Regions from separate parts of the Homo sapiens genome. Here all the other regions are linked to region 3. Evidence: promoter capture Hi-C in human tissues and cell types (Jung and others, 2019). All regions are on one chromosome and are shown on one strand. Each heading gives the region's core, a stretch centred on a gene start or on the middle of the fragment in contact. The rest is flanking DNA. Distances are from core to core; before and after follow the strand shown.

Region 1 (3,611 bases), core at 52-2,551, 36 kb before region 3:
AGTTCAGTGATTATCCAGGAAATCCTAGAGCATCCATAATTAACCTAAGACCTAAGATTCCTCATTTTTAAAAGGATGATACTGCTACTCACCCCACTGAGCTATTGAAAGGATTAGAGAGAATGTATGTAAATCACTTAGTGCAACATCTGGCCATTAATAACTATTATTACAGTGTAATTGTTTCCTGCCTTTGCCAAAGATGGTAGACAGCCTGTTTAGCAAGCTCTGTGACCCTCAGAGTCACATACTTCTAGTGCATCTCCACCAGTGAGACCTCTTGGTCTTGGCAGAGGTGCTTCTCAGCTTGCAGCGGAAAATGGCGCATCATCCAACCTCCTCAGTTGGGTGAGAGTCTGGAAGAGCCACTCAGGCTTGAGCTATGCCCAGGATTCTGAGAACCAGCTAATTGAATCAAAGGTCCTAGGAGTAGAGAAGGCAGAACAAGTGAGGGGATGACTATAACCTGTAACTTCCTTGCCGCACCGCAGCTTCTAGGTCAACACATATCTAGTGACAGATATGCCCTTCTTTCTGTTTTATTTGGTGGAACAGAATAGGTGCTGGCACAGTGGTAATGGATGGAAGTAGACTTTAGAGTCAGTATGCTTAGGTGTGAGTCCAGCTACTACTTCCTGGTTGTCTTGGAGAAGTTTCTTAAACTCTCAGTGCCTCATCTGTAAAATGAGGAGTATACTGCCTCCCTCACAGAGTTGCGGTGACGATTAAATAAAATAATCTGTAAAGTGTTTAACACAGTATCTGGAAAATAGTAAATGTTCAATTTTAAGCTAATGTCAGGGTATAGTCAGGGTGCAGTAGCAGGTAACTAAAACCACCTTAGCCATTTTAGGATGGAATTTAATACAGGGAATTAGGTACTTACAAAATAATTGGAAGAACTGGAATAACAAATCTAGATTGGGCCTGTTGGAGCAACTCTGCAGAATTGACTGCTAAAGTATAAATGTTAGAACTGTGATTCTCATGCAAGTATAAAATGACATGTCACAAATATTTTATTTAATACATTAATTAATGAGGGAATCTGTAAGATGTTAAGTCCAGTTCAAAGGAGAATTCAGAGATACATACACGTGTGTGTGTGTGTGTGTGTGTGTGTGTGTGTGTGTGTGTATACATATATACACACACAATCAGAAATGTTTCAATCAACTGGTTAATAGATGCAAAACTGGCTAAAATTCTACAGGACAGCACTGTCTGACAGAACCATAATGCAAGCCTCATCTGTAATTTAAATTTTCTAAGAGTCACATTTTAAGAAGTAAAAATAGTTAAAATTAATTTTAATAATATCTTATTTAACCCACTCTATCCAAGATATAATTATTTCAAGATGTTATCAATATAATAAAATCAATGAGATCTTTTTACATACTTTTTCATATCGAGTCTTTGAAATCTGGTGTATATTTTATACCTATAAGACATCTCAATTCAAACTTGCCACATTATAAGAGTTCAATAACTACATAGCTAGTAGCTTTCATATTAGACAATGTAGCTTTAGGGCAATAAAAAATAATGTTTGGAATTATCTTTTCTTCAGGGCTAAAATCAATTTTATATCTACCAAAAAAAAAAGATTTGTTTTGCTATGGATAAGAATTATTTGTGGCTGGTCATGCTGGTAATTCCAGCACTTTGGGAGTCCGAGGCAGGAGGATTGCTTGAGCTCAGGAGTTTGAGACCAGCCTGGACAACAGAATGAGATCCTGTTTCTGCTACATTCAAATAAAATTAAAAAGTAAAAAACAAAACTATCTGGATTTCTATAGTTTGCTGCAAATAAATTTCTACCTTACAGAGTTGTAAAATAGTTTAGTTAATAGGAAGTCACCAGTGCATACCCCTATAGAATTAGAAAATTCCTAAAGTTTCTACCAGACCATATCAGAATTTTCCTGAAAGACACTCCCGATCTCTATGACCCAATTTCAAGCCTTGGACAATTTTTCCTGATAGGCCTATTAGGGGAATCTGACTGCCAGGAAAAATACTGTATTTATGAATATACTACCCTAACTATCAGTCCAGGTATCAGGAAGGCACCACCAGAATTGTTGGCCCCCGAGCCACATGGGCTAGATCTTCACACCAGCTAAATGGATGCCTCAGGCACTGCTGCCTCTTTCTCCACTGAACTCAGTCCCAAATTCAAATTTCACAGGAATACCTCTGATTAATAATGACTAAATCACATTTGAAACTCTTGCTGCGAGGCAGTCAGGAAATGTAGCTCCTAGCTCTCCAGTGTCTGCAGTACGTGAAAGACCCCAGAAGGAGTTTGGAATAGAGGTCGACCAAGCCAATATACCACGTCTACTGCAGCCATTATTCAGTTAACAAGAGCTTCATGAAATTCTTCACTCTGGGATTCAGAGGAATTAGATTTTTTTTGCCGGTCTGTATGGTGGCCACACTTCTGTGGACCCTTTCTGGTACAGGGTTCTCAGCACTAGAACAGCATCCCAACCAACATTGAAGGGTCAGGTGCAGAAGAAGGCAACAGAGGACATGTAGAAGGCATGACCAGAGAAGAGGGAGATGATAGCCACCAACGTGTGCTGTTAGGAAAACCCAAGGCAAAGGTATTTTAAGAAGGGAGCAGTCAGTGTCCAAATGCTGTCAGGACCCAAGTAAAATAACTGAAAAGTGCTTTGGGGACCTCAGCAAGCTCAGCTTCAGTGAAGTGGTGGGGGTGGAAGCTAGATTTGCATGGTTTTAGAGTGAGGGGGAAGTTAAGAATCTAAGACAGCAAGAATAGATCATCTTTCTAGCTGTCTGCCTGTGAAGGAGAGGAGAGAGAGCAGCTGTATACATCTTTACGGTTCTGTTCTTGGCAAGGCAAGCCTGCCTAGATTTTGAATTCAATGCCTTCCAATATTTACGAGCGCCTTTGTCTCAGAAGAGCAATATTTGAGGAAGATTGCTTTAAGGATGCACAGTCCAGGATGTTCTCTCTTCCAGTTATGTTAAAATCGACTCCTACATGAAGCCAAATGAAAAATGAGTTGGCCAGACACGCCTGCGTTTTCACCCTCACCCTGATCTCTCCATCTCCCACCAAAAATGCTCATAAACAAATTGAGTTGGGGTTGGGGGATGCCATTAGCCGATAGAGAACTACTAGATAATCTAGTGCCAAATTGTGGCCCACTCATAGCAGAGGTTGTTATTTTAGGCATCACTTAAGCCTTGTCCTGGCTCTATTTTATGTCCCCACCCTAGTTTTTAATCCCTTTTCACTTTTAAATGTACATGCTCTTGTTTTACATACGCTTACAAATCACTTTAAATCCTGCTGGGAACAAAGTGAGGTGCAAACATAAAAAGCTCTGTATTTTCCCGGCTTGCTGATACTGTTTGTTTGATTTTATAATGGAAATGGTAGGGGTGGGGGAACAGATTTATTTAAGGAGTTTTGCTTTACGGCCGACTTCGTTAGATACCTTTTCCATTAAAATAAGGCATGCAACGTTCTATGGTTATAAAAACCACGTCTTCAAGGCACCAGTCTCTGTGGCCGTGGACTCCGGGACCAAGCCAGGCAGCCACGGCCTCGCCCGGGGAAGCTTCAGGTGCCA
Region 2 (3,589 bases), core at 969-3,468, 62 kb before region 3:
ATCCTGAGATGTTGGTGATAGGCAAAAAAGATTTCATCTTTTTGATGAGACTTCATGTTCTTTTCTTGGGTGGTTGTTTAGCTCTTTTCTGGCTTTGGATTTCACACACTCAAAAAAATATGAATATCTTAACACTGGTTCCATTGGTTTCACACCTCCACAATTTGGATTCCTTGCTCCAAACTGTACTTTGGTTTTCCACAGACATTCCTCATTTCTATTTTACTCTGTTTGTTGATCTAATTAACTTTGCTGGAATATATTCTGTCCTATTTGTGGGGAATGGAGTTATTTTTGCCTTAGTTCATGGATTAGAAGGAAACTGTCACTTCATTTCTGGCATCCTTCTCTTTACCCACTTTCATTCCGCTGGAGAACGAACTTGCTAATCAGATTGTTAGAAGAAGATTTTGATTGGGACCACGTTCGTTGTATTAAAGTCTGTGCTCAGGGATGGTATACAACCTTGCCCTTTCTCACTTCCTGTGTCCAGGGTTTGCATGAAGCAGGCAGGGCCTGCCTTAGCTGGCTTCCTCATCTCAACTCTCTCTGTCCTACCTGCACCTTGGAGCTGATGGACCAGTCATCCATAATCATGCAACTGTTTGGAGGGAGGGTATAGACTTCAAGGCAGAGAGTATAAGAAATAAGAGAGTTCACTTTGGCCTCCTATCCTAAATCAATTTCTGTAATCTAGTTTTTACTAAAGTTTTTATTATTGCAATGGGTCTTTGTCTAGCTAATGAAATCAGTGTTTTGTTGACTATTTTGTCATCATTTCTTGTCTATATGCTCCTTCAGCAGAGAATCCCAGAAGTAAGATCCTAATACTAATCTCCATCCAGACCAACCTCTTTCACAAAACCTTTTCAGACAGCCATCATAAGGGTCTTTTTCTAAAACTACACTTCTTACAGTATTATGAGGTACATCCTGTTTTAATCACCCCCTATTCACCCTGCTGATGATGGAGAGATTCCTGCCCTAGCATTAGGGGAATGGTTAAACTCATGACATCTGACACTGAACAGATGTGATTGGCAGCAGTTTATTAGTCACGCATACTAACAGCCAAGGACAAGAGGACGCCATGCCATGCAGGGCCACGTGGGGATTGCACTAGAAAAGAGAATGAGGAACCAGAGGCTGTGGGAAGCAGGCTGTGTGGTATCAAGAAAATGGGATGACCCGCACTTTTCGCCGAAGGACGTGATTGGCTTATTTAAATAATTCTGTCGGCTGGTAAGGAACTGAATTTAGTGATAAGCAGGGAGGGTTGTTTGGGTAGGGAACCTTTTTCATGGGAACAGAGTTGGGGGCAAGGGAACTTCAGGAAAACCATTTGAGGCCCTCCCAATCAAGCCAGATGTCAAGGCAACACACAATATTGACCCTTAATTTTAGGGTTAACACCACACAGATTATAGTACCATGGCATCATTTGTTTATTACCTTAGAATTTTACTCTAGATGTGTGTTTGTGACTATCTTGTGTCTCAGTCAAATTGTGGGCTACTTAAGGACAGCTAGCATTTAAGTCTTCCACTTAAAAAACAATGCATGTTATGGTTTGGAAAAACATGATTATCATGAAAATGATCTGTTTTGTAATATCTCAGAGTGATACTTTGAAATGTAATCAAATGAAGAGAGCTTTAACATACCCAAGTTTTGTCCTTGCATATGGTGAATTTTTTAAATGTAGTGATACTTGTAGTACTAAAGGATGTGCAGAGTAGAAATTAAACTTGTATTAGTAGTCTGAACTCATGGCTGGCAGTGATACTTGCTTATACACGTACTGCTGAATTAAACCTCTGTGATGTGCCATGGATTGACAGCTCTGAACATTTACAGTTACCAGGGTTTGCTGACATTTGAAAATAGCTCATTTTTTTTCCCCACTCTGTTTTCAAACAATGGGTGAAACAATGAATGGAACATTGGCATTCTTTTTAAAATCCGAGTTAAGCTACAGCCTAAATACCAGAATGCTGATGTCTCAAATGTATTATGCAGACTGCATATTGTAGGCACTAATGGGACCCATTAAGATAATTCTTACTCTTGCTAAATTCAAGCAAATTGGTATGGGAGAGGGATGGTAAGGAGGTCAGAGGCAAACTGGAAGAATTTATAGTGTGTCCTCCCAATTTCTTAATAATCTAATATTAAATCCTTTCTTCATCTCAACCATTAATTTTATTTTCTACTTTATTAAAATATTTGTTAAATTGTATGCAACCACAAACCCAAAGATGTCTTTTTTAAAATTATGATATACAATTAGATGAATGAGTGAAAGTTTCAACATTTTAACTTATTTTTATATTTTCAGAGTATAAATCCATGATGTCTCTGAGATAGAATATCTTTTCTTGCATTTTTTACAAATAATCCTATCTAGATCCATCACAGTGCAAAAGAAATATTGTTGTAAAGAAACTACTGATTTTATTCTAATGTGAAAACTCAAAGCTGATTTACTTAAATGAAAATGAGGTTTCTGGCTGGGTGTGGTGTCTCATGCCTTGGTAGGCTGAGGCAGGAGGATGGCTTGAAGCCAGGAGTTTGAGATTAGCCTGGACAACATGCCTCTTCTCTACCAAAAAAAGAAAAAAGAACTTAAAAAAAATGAAGTTTCCGTTGCAAGACTCTTTGTTGGCATAAAAATATCCAGAGATAAACACTATAAGGATTAAGTGCTAATTCAGTTTCTACACTATTAAAGTTTAATTCTAAAATTTTCTGGTAAAATCACGACTTATTTCAAATTAGGAATTAGAAATATAATGCATAATTTTAAATAAGCTTTTTCATATTATAAAAGGAATGCATAAATACAGATAGATATAAAGCAAAATTCTACCAGTTGGAGACAATCACCATCCAATTTCAATGGATTTGCTTCCATTTCCCACCATCAGTCTATAGCTGTGCTTTCTTATATTGTAGTCACTAGCCACATGCAACTGTTTATGTTTAAATTAATTAAAATTAAATACAACAAAAAATTTCGGTCACATTTCAAGGGCTTAATAGCCACCTGTGGCTAGTGGCAATGGTATTAGCCCAAATATAAAACATTTTTTATTATTACAGAAAGCTCTATTGGTAGAGCTATTTAGAGGTATACTTATACCTAGACTATATCCATATGAAACATAATTCTATGTACATATATGGAATTCTTTCTATGTATTCTATATCCTATGTAATATACATTTTTATGCATATATGTAACACTACATGTACACACAAAACTATATGCAAAAAGCTGCAGAGAGTAAAACTATATATAGTTTCCATGAAGACTCACATATACACACTTTTGTTTTCTGCTTTTTCTCAAAATACACAGGCTTATAATACCAGATTTTGGTTTGCCAAAAATGTCTTCATTCTTTTTTTCTCTCTCATTTTAAAAAGACAGTTCTGGTTGATAGTTACTCTATATTAAGATCTTGAAGATATTATTCCACTTTTTTCTGGCTTCCATTGTTGCTGTTGAACAGTCAGCTATAAAACCAATTGCTGTTTGGTGATCTATCTTTTCTCTCTGGCTGCTTTTAAATATTTCACCTTTGTT
Region 3 (3,622 bases), core at 197-2,696:
CTCTCCTTTTATTATTAATCTTTGGTTAATGCTCTGTATTGTCTTACATAAATTTCTCCTGTTTATTATTACCTTTTCTCTATGTCCTTTGGCCTAATTCTATTGGTCTTTTATATATTTCTCAAATTATTTTTCATGATGAGTGATACAGCACTTGCCAATATTTCCAGTTTCCTCCTTCCAGGCTCAAGAGAAGATTACACCTCCCTGTCCTATTAAAGTTAGACAAGGCCAACTGACTAGCTGTAGCCAATGATTTATGTCACTTCTGACAGAAACATTTAAAAACCTATGCATGGGGAAAGAATTGTCTTTTCAATAAACAGTGCTGGGTCAATTAGATATTCATATGGAAAAAAAGAAATTGTGACCCCACTCATAAAAATCAATTCCAGATGGATGGCATATATAAATTTGAACAATCTTGGTGAGATAAGATTCCTCTTTTTTTCTTCTTTTTAAAAATAGAGATGGGGTCTTGCTGTGTTGCCCAGGCTGGTCTCCAACTCCTAGGCTCAACTGATCCTCCCGTCTCCGCCTCTCAAAGTGCTAGGATTACAGGTGTGAGGCACTGTGCCCAGGTGAGAGGTAAGATTTCTTAAACAGAGCAGAAAAACACTAAGGTAAAGGGGAAAATGACAAATTGGCACATATTAAGATGAAAAACTTTTGTTCTTCAAAAGGTACCATTAAGATGGTGAAAAAGTAGGCCAGGTACGGTTGCTCATGCCTGTAATCCCAGCACTTTGGGAGGCCAAGATGGGCGGATCACCTGAGGCCAGGAGTTCAGACCAGCCTGGCCAACATGGCAAAACCATGTCTTGACTAAAAATACAAAACAAAACAAAACAAAACAAACAAACAAAAAAACCGGGCATGGTGGTGGGCGCCTGTAATCCCGGCTACTTGGGAGGCTGAAGCAGGAGAATCGCTTGAACTTGGGAGGCGGCAGCTTCAGTGAGCTGAGATCATGCCATTGTACTCCAGCCTCGGCGACAGCGAAACTACGAGTCCAAAAGAAAAGTAACCCCACAGAGTGGGAGGAAATATTTGTAATACCTATACTGGAAGAGAAATATTTGTAATACCTATACTGGAAGAATGACTGACTAGTATCTAGCATGTACAAAGGCTTCCTACAAATCCATATGAAAAATAACGTCAGCCCAGTAGAGAAATAGGGAGAAGCCTCGGATACTGCACAAGAGAGAATATCCTAGTGGCCAACAAACACATGAGAAGGTTCTCAGCTCATTAGACTTTGGCTAAATGCAAATTAAAACCACCATGTAATATCATTACTCATCCAGCACGATGGCTAAAATAACAAAGACGTAAAGACACCACCACAGACTCGCGAGACTGAGGAGTGAGTGTCGCGAGACTGAGGGGTGGGTGTCGCGAGACTGAAGAGTGGGCGGCGCAAATGGGCGAGGTGTTTACTCGCCATTTTGTGTGAGGAACGTTGACGCTACCTACCTCTGGCCTGGCCTCTACCCACTGCTGCCCTGGCCGCTACCAACATGAGCCTCCCGGAGAGTCCTCACAGCCCCGCTACTCTCGACTATGCTCTGGAAGACCCGCACCAGGGCCAGAGGTCCCGAGAAAAGAGCAAGGCGACAGAGGTAATGGCAGATATGTTTGATGGCCGCTTGGAGCCAATCGTGTTCCCACCGCCCCGGCTTCCAGAGGAGGGGGTCGCGCCCCAGGATCCCGCAGATGGTGGCCATACTTTCCACATCTTGGTCGATGCGGGTCGCAGTCATGGAGCCATCAAAGCGGGGCAGGAAGTGACTCCACCACCCGCGGAGGGCCTAGAAGCGGCCTCTGCCTCGCTGACAACTGACGGCAGCCTCAAAAATGGCTTTCCGGGTGAAGAGACGCACGGCCTAGGTGGGGAGAAGGCTCTAGAAACCTGTGGGGCAGGGAGGTCGGAGTCTGAAGTGATTGCAGAGGGGAAGGCCGAGGACGTGAAGCCTGAGGAGTGTGCCATGTTCTCAGCCCCAGTGGATGAGAAGCCAGGAGGCGAAGAAATGGACGTGGCGGAAGAAAACAGAGCAATAGATGAGGTAAACAGGGAGGCAGGGCCTGGGCCCGGGCCCGGGCCCCTGAACGTGGGTCTCCACCTGAACCCCCTGGAGTCCATCCAGCTGGAACTGGACTCCGTGAATGCAGAGGCTGACAGGGCGCTCCTGCAGGTGGAGCGCAGGTTTGGGCAGATTCATGAATACTACCTGGAGCAGAGGAATGACATCATTCGCAATATCCCGGGCTTCTGGGTCACTGCTTTCCGCCACCACCCACAGCTGTCTGCCATGATTAGAGGCCAAGATGCCGAGATGTTAAGCTACTTAACCAATTTGGAAGTGAAGGAGCTCAGACACCCTAGGACAGGCTGCAAGTTTAAGTTCTTCTTTCAAAGAAACCCTTACTTCAGAAACAAGCTGATTGTAAAGGTGTATGAGGTCAGATCCTTCGGCCAAGTGGTGTCTTTTTCCACTCTAATCATGTGGCGCCGGGGCCATGGACCCCAGTCCTTCATTCATAGGAACCGACATGTCATCTGCAGCTTCTTCACCTGGTTTTCAGACCACAGCCTTCCAGAGTCCGACAGGATTGCTCAGATTATTAAAGAGGACCTCTGGTCAAATCCACTGCAGTACTACCTGTTGGGTGAAGACGCCCATAGAGCTAGACGTCGCCTGGTAAGGGAGCCAGTGGAGATCCCCAGGCCCTTTGGGTTCCAGTGTGGTTAACCTTTGCCTTTGGAATTACTCCTGCAGAAGGTTGCCTGCCACCACCAGCTGGACCTGAGCTTGGGCAACAGCATTAGGTATGCCCTTTACTTTTTTTGTTCTGACTTTCCTGTACCCTCTGTTTAAACTTTCCGTTCTCTCAACCTGAAGATTGAGACCTTGGTGGCTGTGCTGCTCCCCTTTCACCTGGTCGTCTTGCTATTCTGCATTAACATCACATGCTCCCAGCCGATGGGTCACATCCTTCTAAGCGAAGCGAATGATGCTGTAGGTTACACTGTATTTACCTTTGTTTGGACTCGGTTTGTTCCCAGGACCTCTGGTCTGGCTCCTCCTACTTGGATTTCTAGCTGTGTCTAAGAACCTATTCAGCTCACCCTGCTCTGCATCTGACAGTACAGGTGCATGGCCTGTGGACAATTGCTGGGCATTAATGAAGTCAAGGGAGAACAGCAGGGGGCAAGTTGGTCTGTGTGAATTATGGGACCCCATTACTTTTCCTGAGACTGGTCACCTATTGCTGCCTGCTACTGGCTATTCCCAAGTACTGCTACTTGGGCAGCTCCCTGCTGAGTGAACATATCCCAGACCATTGCCAGCTCCACTCTCTGGTTTCTAATAAACAGGGATCTCCAGAACACTGGTGGTGGACACAGCTTTCCTGTCAGCACACAAAAGACCTGTTCCTCTTCCAAAAGACCTCTCTTTACCACCACCACCCTCATCACTCAGAAACCCTACTGTTTGTTAGACAGGTGGTTGAGGGGACATGTCAGACCCTATCCTCATGGCAAGGTTAATATGTTGGTGTTCTTGACAAGTACCAGGCTTTCTCAGCCACAACCAGTGGATTCATTCAAAATCTA

Evidence for each region. The method cuts DNA at HindIII sites, captures the fragments that hold promoters and counts their contacts. A contact is called where the count stands out against the background at its distance.
Region 1: a fragment that was not itself captured here is called in contact with the fragment with the promoter of TSPYL6 in region 3 in 1 of the 25 tissues and cell types used here (IMR-90 fibroblasts).
Region 2: a fragment that was not itself captured here is called in contact with the fragment with the promoter of TSPYL6 in region 3 in 3 of the 25 tissues and cell types used here (IMR-90 fibroblasts, aorta and heart left ventricle).

Annotation. Positions count from the first base shown.
Region 1 is chr2:54,290,196-54,293,806 of GRCh38, reverse strand. The region is part of intron 3 of ACYP2 (acylphosphatase 2); the gene reads right to left. Among named protein-coding and RNA genes, the nearest start is that of TSPYL6, 36 kb to the right of the region's middle. The HindIII fragment of the contact is 5,840 bases long and covers 1-3,611 here.
Region 2 is chr2:54,316,509-54,320,097 of GRCh38, reverse strand. No RefSeq gene overlaps it. Among named protein-coding and RNA genes, the nearest start is that of CIMIP6, 13 kb to the left of the region's middle. The HindIII fragment of the contact is 7,495 bases long and covers 1-3,589 here.
Region 3 is chr2:54,254,053-54,257,674 of GRCh38, reverse strand. TSPYL6 (TSPY like 6) reads left to right here and starts at 1,446. Exons shown (of 1, transcript NM_001003937.3): 1 at 1,446-3,622. The coding sequence starts at 1,524. The coding sequence ends at 2,756. All of the region lies in intron 3 of ACYP2 (acylphosphatase 2), which reads right to left. The region is part of intron 1 of LOC105374610 (a long non-coding RNA gene); the gene reads left to right. The HindIII fragment of the contact is 10,397 bases long and covers 1-3,622 here.